Linked DNA regions of Homo sapiens: region 2 is linked to region 1. Evidence: promoter capture Hi-C in 16 types of primary human blood cells and fetal thymus (Javierre and others, 2016). All regions are on one chromosome and are shown on one strand. The core of a region is centred on a gene start or on the middle of the fragment in contact, and the rest is flanking DNA. Distances in the headings are between cores, read along the strand shown.

The links. Contacts are between HindIII fragments. The CHiCAGO score rates a contact against its expected background, and 5 or more counts as called.
Region 2: a contact is called between a fragment that was not itself captured here and the fragment with the promoter of SPP1 in region 1, in 2 of 17 cell types (endothelial precursors and megakaryocytes). The highest score is 7.8, in endothelial precursors.

What each region holds. Positions count from the first base shown.
Region 1 is chr4:87,974,211-87,979,176 of GRCh38, forward strand. SPP1 (secreted phosphoprotein 1) reads left to right here and starts at 1,504. Exons shown (of 7, transcript NM_001040058.2): 1 at 1,504-1,590; 2 at 2,672-2,739; 3 at 2,849-2,887. The coding sequence starts at 2,686. RefSeq lists promoters at 1-1,500, 500-1,587, 1,377-1,590, cis regulatory regions at 510-519, 735-743, 810-818, 1,256-1,271, 1,446-1,455 and 1 more and enhancers at 762-782, 1,145-1,644, 1,407-1,477. The HindIII fragment of the contact is 2,498 bases long and covers 1,029-3,526 here.
Region 2 is chr4:87,538,799-87,544,187 of GRCh38, forward strand. No RefSeq gene overlaps it. Among named protein-coding and RNA genes, the nearest start is that of SPARCL1, 12 kb to the left of the region's middle. The HindIII fragment of the contact is 555 bases long and covers 2,635-3,189 here.

The sequences.
Region 1 (4,966 bases), core at 254-2,753:
ATGAAACCTATGAATTAGCTATACACTATCACTGCAAGACATTATTTAATCTATATTTATATTAAAAGTAATATTTGGCAAAAGGAAGCTGACACTTTAGGACTAATAAAAACCACAATTACTTTTGCAGCAACCTAATAATAAATAGGACCATTTATTTTTCATCTCAATTACACACAAGTCTTAACAATAAAGGTGTAAGGTAAATAAATAGTGCAATCTGCATTTCACAACTGAGAAAGCAAATGAAGATAAGTAATCTCAAGGCAATATTAAATATTTTAAAAGGACCCAGAGCTCTGCTATCCCTGAATTCTGCTCTAATATTCGGACTTTCCCTGTAATTTTCTTTCATTCAGACACCTTTTAAATACCTAGTAAAGTGTTTTTTAATACAGAAATTTTTAAAAATGTTTTTCTTTTTAAGTGGCCTACTTTACATACCTTGGGAGAAAAACTAGAAAAAAAGATGATTCCAAAATCGAATCTGTTCCTTTAGAAATGTGCAAAATTTCCTTATTGATGCATACAATTTAAAGATCTTACGTCTACTCTCATTTTAATAACCTGTTCTTTTAAAGGACATTACAATTCGTGACTGCCTGCCCCTCTTAAAAATTTCATAATAGTTAACACACATATAGTCCTTAAGATACGCAGAGCATTTGCATCTAATATGTGCTAAGCATTGCTAGTTTAACATACTAATTCATTTAAACCCCTCAAAAACCCCATGACCTAGGTAATAGTATTGCATTTCATGGATGAGGGAACAAGGATAGGTAGGCTGGGCGATTTGCCCAAGGTTGCACAGGTCAGCAGTGACACAGCGGAATTCAGAACCACGGTCTGGCTCCTGAAGCAGCCCTCTCAAGCAGTCATCCTGCTCTCAGTCAGAAACTGCTTTACTTCTGCAACATCTAGAATAAATTACCATTCTTCTATTTCATATAGAATTTTATATTTTAATGTCACTAGTGCCATTTGTCTAAGTAACAAGCTACTGCATACTCGAAATCACAAAGCTAAGCTTGAGTAGTAAAGGACAGAGGCAAGTTTTCTGAACTCCTTGCAGGCTTGAACAATAGCCTTCTGGCTCTTCAATAAGTACAATCATACAGGCAAGAGTGGTTGCAGATATTACCTTTATGTTACTTAAACCGAAAGAAACAAAAATCCATTCTATTTAATTTTACATTAATGTTTTTCCCTACTTTCTCCCTTTTTCATGGGATCCCTAAGTGCTCTTCCTGGATGCTGAATGCCCATCCCGTAAATGAAAAAGCTAGTTAATGATATTGTACATAAGTAATGTTTTAACTGTAGATTGTGTGTGTGCGTTTTTGTTTTTTTTTGTTTTAACCACAAAACCAGAGGGGGAAGTGTGGGAGCAGGTGGGCTGGGCAGTGGCAGAAAACCTCATGACACAATCTCTCCGCCTCCCTGTGTTGGTGGAGGATGTCTGCAGCAGCATTTAAATTCTGGGAGGGCTTGGTTGTCAGCAGCAGCAGGAGGAGGCAGAGCACAGCATCGTCGGGACCAGACTCGTCTCAGGCCAGTTGCAGCCTTCTCAGCCAAACGCCGACCAAGGTACAGCTTCAGTTTGCTACTGGGTTGTGCATTCAGCTGAATTTCATGGGGAAGTCCAAATTCTAAGGAAAAATATTTTTAATTGTAATGCTGTTAAACAGACTTAAATTTTCTAGCCTTTTTAATAAGCAGATTAGATACATTGCAGGTCTCCTGGAACAAAGGTGTCTAGATATTTTGAATGCCAATCAAATTTAAAACTTAAAAATACTTCCACTGGGTCCTCAAAAGAACGGAAACCACCGATGCTAATCAGAAAATAGTAAAATTAAATTCCCCTTTGGAATAATTATACCTATATAATTTTCAGTGGGTGACTGTGCAGGAATTTAAAAGAAAAGGGATCTTTTATGCTAATTAAACCAATTACAATGCTATTTTTTAAATGATGTATCTCACTTTTAAGGGGAAGAAAACCCTTTCTGAATATGCCACTGCTAAATTTAGCTGTTAAAATATTCACCAAGATACCTGTATGACACTGTGTAGGCTTATTATTACAAATAGAAAAGCTGTTGGCTATTTTCAATGTTTTCCTTTGAATTTCAAATTTTTAGAACATCTTACTTAAATAACAAATTTCAGAGATAGTTTGATTTCACCTAAGTAGCACCTACTTGATAATTAAGCTAAAAGTCACATTTAAAGTACATGTTGGAAAAATGGATAAAGCAAATTTTTTTCATTTTTTTCTGTGAGTTTTTTCTTCTCTAAAAAATATTCCCATACTAGCTTATTAATATAATTAAGTTACTGTTGATCTGTTTGTAGGTTTAGAGAGCTAGATATATAAGGTAGTAATGGTATAATTTCTGGAACTCTAAATTTTAAAGTTGAATAAATACAGACTTGCAAAATTTCCCTTTCCCTTGCCTAATAGTGAAAGATGGATAATAGGTGGCAATATAAATATTAACTTGAAAGACTATAATACTAAAAAGAAAAGGCATCTCTAAGAAGTAGAAAAGATTCTATAGAAAATATATTTTATTTGTGATCATTTTGTAATGTGGTAGTATAAAAAGGTATCACTGTTGTAACCTATGAAGATGTCAGCTATTCCTTATGAAATATTTTGCAGGAAAACTCACTACCATGAGAATTGCAGTGATTTGCTTTTGCCTCCTAGGCATCACCTGTGCCATACCAGTGAGTACAGTTGCATCTTAAAGAAAATTCCTGAAAATAACTGAATTGTGTGCTTCCATGTGCTAGGAGGACATTCTTGTAATCTTTCTTCATCTTTTCTGTTTCTAAGGTTAAACAGGCTGATTCTGGAAGTTCTGAGGAAAAGCAGGTAAGCATCTTTTATGTTTTTATATAGTTAAATCATTTACTCAATTATGGCGAGAGGTGCAAGAAACGTATTTGCTGCGATATTACTTATCTTCTCAGTCAAATCCATTGGTTTACAAGTATTGATTGACTGCCTGCTATGAATCTAGGCCAGTACCAAGCACAGTATAGTTTTTAATAAATATAAGTTTATAAAACCAACCCAGATATTTTAAATATAATAATATCTAGGCATGTATGATGAGTTATCGCATGTAAGATAAGTTATATGAAGTTGTGTGACTTTTTTTCCATTAGTCCACATACTGATCTAAAAGCAGAAAATTCCAGCTTTTGCTTTGTTTAGTGGATTGCTAAGTTTAAAATTCACATTGGATATTAGTCAGAACTGTTTGTATGACCATAATATTCACAATATTGTCTGAGATATTAGCTGAGAAGCCCATTGTGAAAAGAAAGTCTATGTGTGCTGTTTGTATCTATTGTGATTGTCAGCTGATGTTAGATCACATTTTCTAACCAAACATAAGACCAACCAAACTCTTTATTATAATTATTTGACCAGCACTAAAGATGTACCTACCCCTCCACAACAGATGAAACTGTGCCAGCCAAACAACAAATGGGCATTGTCCCCAGAAGCTTGGACAAAAAGGCACACAGAGTTCAATTCCAGTTGAACAGAATAAAGGCCAAAATAGAGCTGCCTTGGGGGTCACTGCAATTAGACTGCTTAATGAAGACATTAAAAGAAGTATTCTGTGTTCGTTTGTGTGTGGAGGGGTGTGTGTGTCTGTTTTTCAACTGATTTGAAAATACAGGTGTTGAATCCTAATAATAAACCAGAAAAATTAACATCTCCAGAGAAGATAGAGGTCATACTATTTGAGGCAAGAATTAGCGTCTTTTTAATAAACGAAAATATGGCAAAGATGCATTTTAGAAGGCACGTGGAGCTATAACAATTTAAGAAATACGTGAAGAGCTCAAGGCTCAGCCTTCTAGAATCCCAGAAACTTAAAGCTAGTAAAAAATTGGGGAAGTCTCTAAGGATATATGCCTGAAAATACACACTGGTTATCTGTGAGTGTTAGGATTACTGGGTGGTTTTTAGTCTATTCATTTTGCTTACCTTTATTTTCTTCATATTAGTTTTTAAAAATTATAAATGTAACTTATACATCCATTCTCTCTGAGCCTGTATTACATGTGTCATGAGAATAGATAGATAGATATGAAAAAGTGAAGAGAAAAACTCTGAACTCATCTGGTCTCACTGTTTTTCCGCCTTCTTTTTTTTTTTTTTTTTTTTTTTTTGAGACGGAGTCTCGCTCCGTCGCCCAGGCTGGAGTGCAGTGGTGTGATCTCGGCTCACTGCAAGCTCCGCCTCCCAGGTTCACCCCATTCTCCTGAGTAGCTGGGACTACAGGCGCCCGCCACCACGCCCGGATAATTTTTTGTATTTTTAGTAGAGACGGGGTTTCACCGTGTTAGCCAGGATGGTCTCCATCTCCTGACCTCGTGATCCACCCTCCTTGGCCTCCCAAAGTGCTGGGATTACAGGCGTGAGCCACTGCGCCCGGCTGTTTTTTCATCTTCTTAAAGCAAGGAACCCCTTCTTTCAGCAAAACCTTTCGGAGAAGCCCAATACTAAGCTCCTCTGGTTAGAGCCAGCCATGAGAGAAACTCCAAGTACTTCTGACTGGTTCTCTCTCTACTCATCCACCCCTTAGGTGGCTGCAGAAGGAACTCTGTGCAACCCCCAGAGTTCTCATTCTCAGTGACAGGGAAATGTAATGATTGGCCCTGGATGATTCAGCAGATCAGATGATACTTACTCAGAGCAATTTCCACTCCTTTGCAGTAGCATATTATCAGTATTTTCCAGATAAATAACTTGGCTAAAGAAAAATCCATTTCATTTACATCTTTGGCACCTTACAGCAATAGAACTTTTGTGCAATGATTTTAATATTATATTTCTACATTGGCTGATAAGATACATATGGCTATTGAGCACTCAAAATGTGGGCTAGTGCAACTGAGGAACTGAATTTTTATCTTCTTTTTTTTTTTTTTT
Region 2 (5,389 bases), core at 1,662-4,161, 430 kb before region 1:
AATAAGAAAGCTGAATATTCACTCTGATGGTAGTTTCTTTTGCTGTGCAGAAGCTCTTTAGTTTAATTAGATCCCATTTGTCAATTTTGGCTTTTGTTGCCATTGCTTTTGGTGTTTTAGACATGAAGTCCTTGCCCATGCCTATGTCCTGAATGGTAATGCCTAGGTTTTCTTCTAGGGTTTTTATGGTTTTAGGTTTAACGTTTAAGTCTTTAATCCATCTTGAATTAATTTTTGTGTAAGGTGTAAGGAAGGGATCCAGTTTCAGCTTTCTACATATGGCTAGCCAGTTTTCCCAGCACCATTTATTAAATAGGGAATCCTTTCCCCATTGCTTGTTTTTCTCAACAGGCAACCTACAAAATGGGAGAAAATTTTCGCCACCTACTCATCTGACAAAGGGCTAATATCCAGAATCTACAATGAACTCAAACAAATTTACAAGAAAAAAAACAAACAACCCCATCAAAAAGTGGGTGAAGGACATGAACAGACACTTCTCAAAAGAAGATATTTATGCAGCCAAAAAACACATGAAAAAATGCTCACCATCACTGGCCATCAGAGAAATGCAAATCAAAACCACAATGAGATACCATCTCACACCAGTTAGAATGGCAATCATTAAAAAGTCAGGAAACAACAGGTGCTGGAGAGGATGTGGAGAAATAGGAACAATTTTACACTGTTGGTGGGACTGTAAACTAGTTCAACCCTTGTGGAAGTCAGTGTGGTGATTTCTCAGGGATCTAGAACTAGAAATACCATTTGACCCAGCCATCCCATTACTGGGTATATACCCAAAGGACTATAAATCATGCTGCTATAAAGACACATGCACACGTATGTTTATTGTGGCATTATTCACAATAGCAAAGACTTGGAACCAACCCAAATGTCCAACAATGATAGACTGGATTAAGAAAATGTGGCACATATACACCATGGAATACTAGCAGCCATAAAAAATGATGAGTTCATGTCCTTTATAGGGACGTGGATGAAATTGGAAATCATCATTCTCAGTAAACTATCGCAAGAACAAAAAACCAAACACCGCATATTCTCACTCATAGGTGGGAACTGAACAATGAGAACATATGGACACAGGAAGGGGAAGAGCACACTCTGGGGACTGTTGTGGGGTGCGGGGAGGGGGGAGGGATAGCACTGGGAGATATACCTAATGCTAAATGACGAGTTAATGGCTGCAGCACACCAGCATGGCACATGTATGCATATGTAACTAACCTGCACATCGTGCACATGTACCCTAAAACTTAAAGCATAATAATAATAAAATAAAAAAAAGAAAGAAAGCTGAATATTGTTGAAGATTGTGTCAAGGAACCTCTGTAATAGGATATAGAACGCCTCCTCTTTTCACATGAACTGCTAATACTATATGTGAAGAATGACGATTTTTAGGCAGAGGGGTGAAACATATCCCTTTAGTCAAGCTATGCAAACACAGCAGCTGCTCACATAAATTCCTTGAGTTTTATGCCGTTGTCTTTTCTCAGACAGAGCCCTCATTGAGTTTGGGAGAATTTGGGTTGGCTGGGTAATAACCGCATGAGCTATGTAGCTACTCTTTCATTCTGACCTCACCTTGGGATAGACACAGAACCCAATGTATCAAATCGCCTGGTGTACAGATCTCTTGTCCAAGTGAGGTGCAGCTGAACTTTATATTTCTGTGCATTTGACTTGCAGGCTGCGTCTTATTCACCAAGACAGAAGTTTATACTTGGGCCTTCTCATGGGTGAGGTCACTTTGCTGTTATTAGCCAAACGCCGCTCTTCTCCAAATGTCTGATGTTTTCTTGGCTGTAGTGTTCAGTTCCCAGAGCAAGATGTTTTAGACTAAGAAGTACTGCTTGTGCAATGACGCAAAGCCTATTCTGGAAATTTGCTCCAATGGTTGTGTTTTCTTGTTGGTTTTGAGCAACGGTATTTGTATTTTTGTTGATATTTCCCTTGTGAAGGAGCAATGGGTTTGTTAGATTTTGCGTGGTCTGATTGTACAACGTCAGGGATGCAGCTGAGGCTTTGTCTCTAGCAAATGTTAGGCGAGCCAAATTCGGACTGTTTAGAGTCTACATTGGCATTAACTGGCTGGCAACTTGAAATGAGACAAAAATGAATGATTTGCACAATGCCTGTCCTCGCTAGCTCAGTATTTCTTAAAAATTTCTTTTCATTGTCACTCCCCCAAGGAGCTTTTTGAACATTTTTTTCCTGAATGTCTCCTCCCACCATGAAATTTTAATACTCCAGATACACCGTATATCTATTTATATAATATTATCTGTATCTGTGTTTTATATATAAAAGAATAGAATTCTAGCTACCCCTGAACCAATTTTGCCCTTTTACTAATGATCCTCACCAATTGACTGAAACACATCTCATGCCTGAAAAAAACACAATTTACTATGGGGTAATTCATTGGCAATTACAATTTATAGCTGGAGAAACTGAGTCATGAATGATTTTCTAAGAACTTGATATAATATTTATAACAGCATTCATTACTCTACAAACATTTATAAAAGAACACAGAAGAATAACTTTTTGAATACATTACAGTTACTTTTCGGAGGAAATGCAGTAAAAATCTTTATAATTATAAGCTTTTTGTCCATGTTGTTAGCGCTTCTCATGTTGTGTGCTAAAGTTGGTTGAGATCTGTAAAAGCACAGGACAAATATTTCCTGCACATGCCCTTTTTCATTCCTATGCTCTAATCCCTGATGAAAGCCCCAATCACTTCACGTCTGACTGTTTTCCCTACCTCTGGACTCACATTCACAAATGCAAATTGCCCTCAAGGGCCAGGGAGGCCACAGAAATTAACGAAGGGGGCCCGAAGTAAGAAAACGACACTCTCCCAACACAGGCAGGGATGACTGGCAGCTGACACATGGCCTTTGTGTTAGGAAGACAAGAGGGGGTGCATGGGACTTGGGAAATGGAAAATATGTAGTCCATCTGAAGGTGGCAGCTGCTACTCAATTCTTGTAGCTTTATTGTCACAGGGAAATGGCAGCCCAACATTGTCTGATCATTTTACTGTTTTAGAGAGAAACCAGAAATCTAACATTTTATGGGATTATTAAATATTGACCAATAGTCTTTGTGCCAAATAAAACGGGTCTGTGAGCTGGGCTGGGCCACTGAACACTAAGCTTTGAGCACAGTTCCAGAGACTTCCTTCTCTTTCCAACCCAATCTATCTTAAACACTATTTTAAACAATTTCACCCTCTCAAAGTGTAATTCACATCATGTTCCTCTCCTGCTTAAAAGTTTTCAATAGCTTCCCACTGCCTACCAAGTCAATTCTAAACTCGTGAGCCAGGCATTTTAAAGCCATCTGCCACTTTATGTAATATCTTCCCTTCACTTATGTGAACATCAACTTTTTCTCCTTTCCTTGACTTACTTTGTAATTTTCTGCCTCACTCCTTTGACTAAGGTGGCTTCTTCTGCCTGAAACCTTCATGTTTAAATCTTACCAATCTTTCAAAGTCGAACTTTAGATGTCTCCTTTCCAAGAATCCTTCTTTGCTATATCTGATAAGAGGTTATTCTTTCTCTGAACTTCAATAACGTATTATTTTTGATAAAGTGTTTGGAACACTCTGCTCAGAGCAAGTGCGATAGGACGAGTTGGCTCGGAAGGAGTGGCTCATCACCCTCATTTGCCCTTCACTTCCCATCTCTGGCTCTGTCCTGTGTCATAGGGGAATAGCATATTCATTTAATTTTTTCTCTGGCATTTTTCACTTTTCATTGTGTAATACAGAGTCCTCTATCCCTTACTAGGTAATATTTTCAAACAGGGATTCTTTCTTTCTTTCTTTCTTTCTTTCTTTTCTTTCTTTCTTTCTTTCTTTCTTTCTTTCTTTCTTTCTTTCTTTCTTTCTTCTTTCTTTCTTTCTCTTCTTTCTTTCTTTCTCTTCTTTCTTTCTTTCTTTCTTTCTTTTTCTTTCTTTCCTTCCTTCCTTCTTTCTTTTTTCTTTCTTTCTTTCCTTTCTTTTCTTTCCTTCCTTCCTTCTTTCCTCCCTTCCTTCTTTCCTTTCTTTCTTTTCTTTCCTTCTTTCCTTTCTTTCCTTGCTTTTCTTTTCTTTCTTTCTTCCTTCCTTCCTTCTTTCTTTCCCTTCCTTCCATCCTTCCTTCCTCCCTTCCTCCTTTCCTTTCTTTCTTTTCTTTCCTTCTTTCTTTCCTTGCTTTTCTTTTTCTTTCTTCCTTCCTTCCCTCTTTCTTTCTTTCCCTTCCTTCCTTCTGTCCTTCCATCCTTCCTTCCTCCTTTCCTTTCTTTCCTTCTTTCCTTTCTTTCTCTTTCTTTCTTTCTCTCTCTCTCTCTCTTCCTTCCCTCCCTCCCTCCCTCCCTCCCTCCCTCCTTCCTTCCTTCCTTCCTTCCTTCCTCAGGGTCTTGCTCTGTCACCCAGGCTGGGGTGCCATGGGCCAATCATGGCTCACTGCAGCCTTGACCTCCCAGGCTCAAGCGATCCTCCTACCTCAGCCTTCCAAGTAGCTGGGACTACAGGCTTAAGCCACCAGGCCTGGCTAATTAAAAAAAATTTTTTTTTTCCAGGGATGGATGTCTCCCTGTGTTGCTCAGGATGGTCTCAAACTCCTGAGCTCAAGTGATCTTCCCCCCTGAGCCTCCCAAAGTGCTGGGATTACAGACATGAACCATTGTGCCCCACCAGGGATCATTTTCTTGTATAACCTTGATTCCCCACAGTGGCAAGTACTTAAATATTTGTAAAATGAGCATTTGCAACTCTATTGATTGCTTCATTCACCAGATCATTCCTTCCCACATGCCCCCAAAATTCCAAATCTATGGATGTGTTACTTGAAGAGAACCAAATTGAGAGAAGGCAAACATACTTCAGGAAGGGTAATGTGTAAGGAACCATCAGGATTCTCATGCATTTGCGTGATTTGTCTACCCTCTTTGGCCCAAATATTGAGCCTTTTAAACATTTAAAAATATTGACCAATGAAGATTTAATATGTTCAATTGACCCTCGTTTTAACATGCTGTTCAACATCTGCCAATTTCTAAAAACTGGTCTGACATTCTAGAAGGAAAAAAAGAATGAGCAATTCCTAGGTTAACTAACATATATAAAGGAATTTGATATCTCTTTTGCCTTACTGGGCTCCTGGGTACAGGCCAGTATACTTGGAAGTGGCCACAAGAGGGGAGTATGAACCACAGTCATCCTTAAATGAATGAGACCAAGGATTCATTCTTTCTCCAGCAGAATGAAGAAAGCTCCATCCTGAACAATAGTCAATTGAATTATCATTCCCTTTCCAGCTGACGATCAAAGACTGAATGTGGATCTGCCCTTTCTGTGTTCACAGAG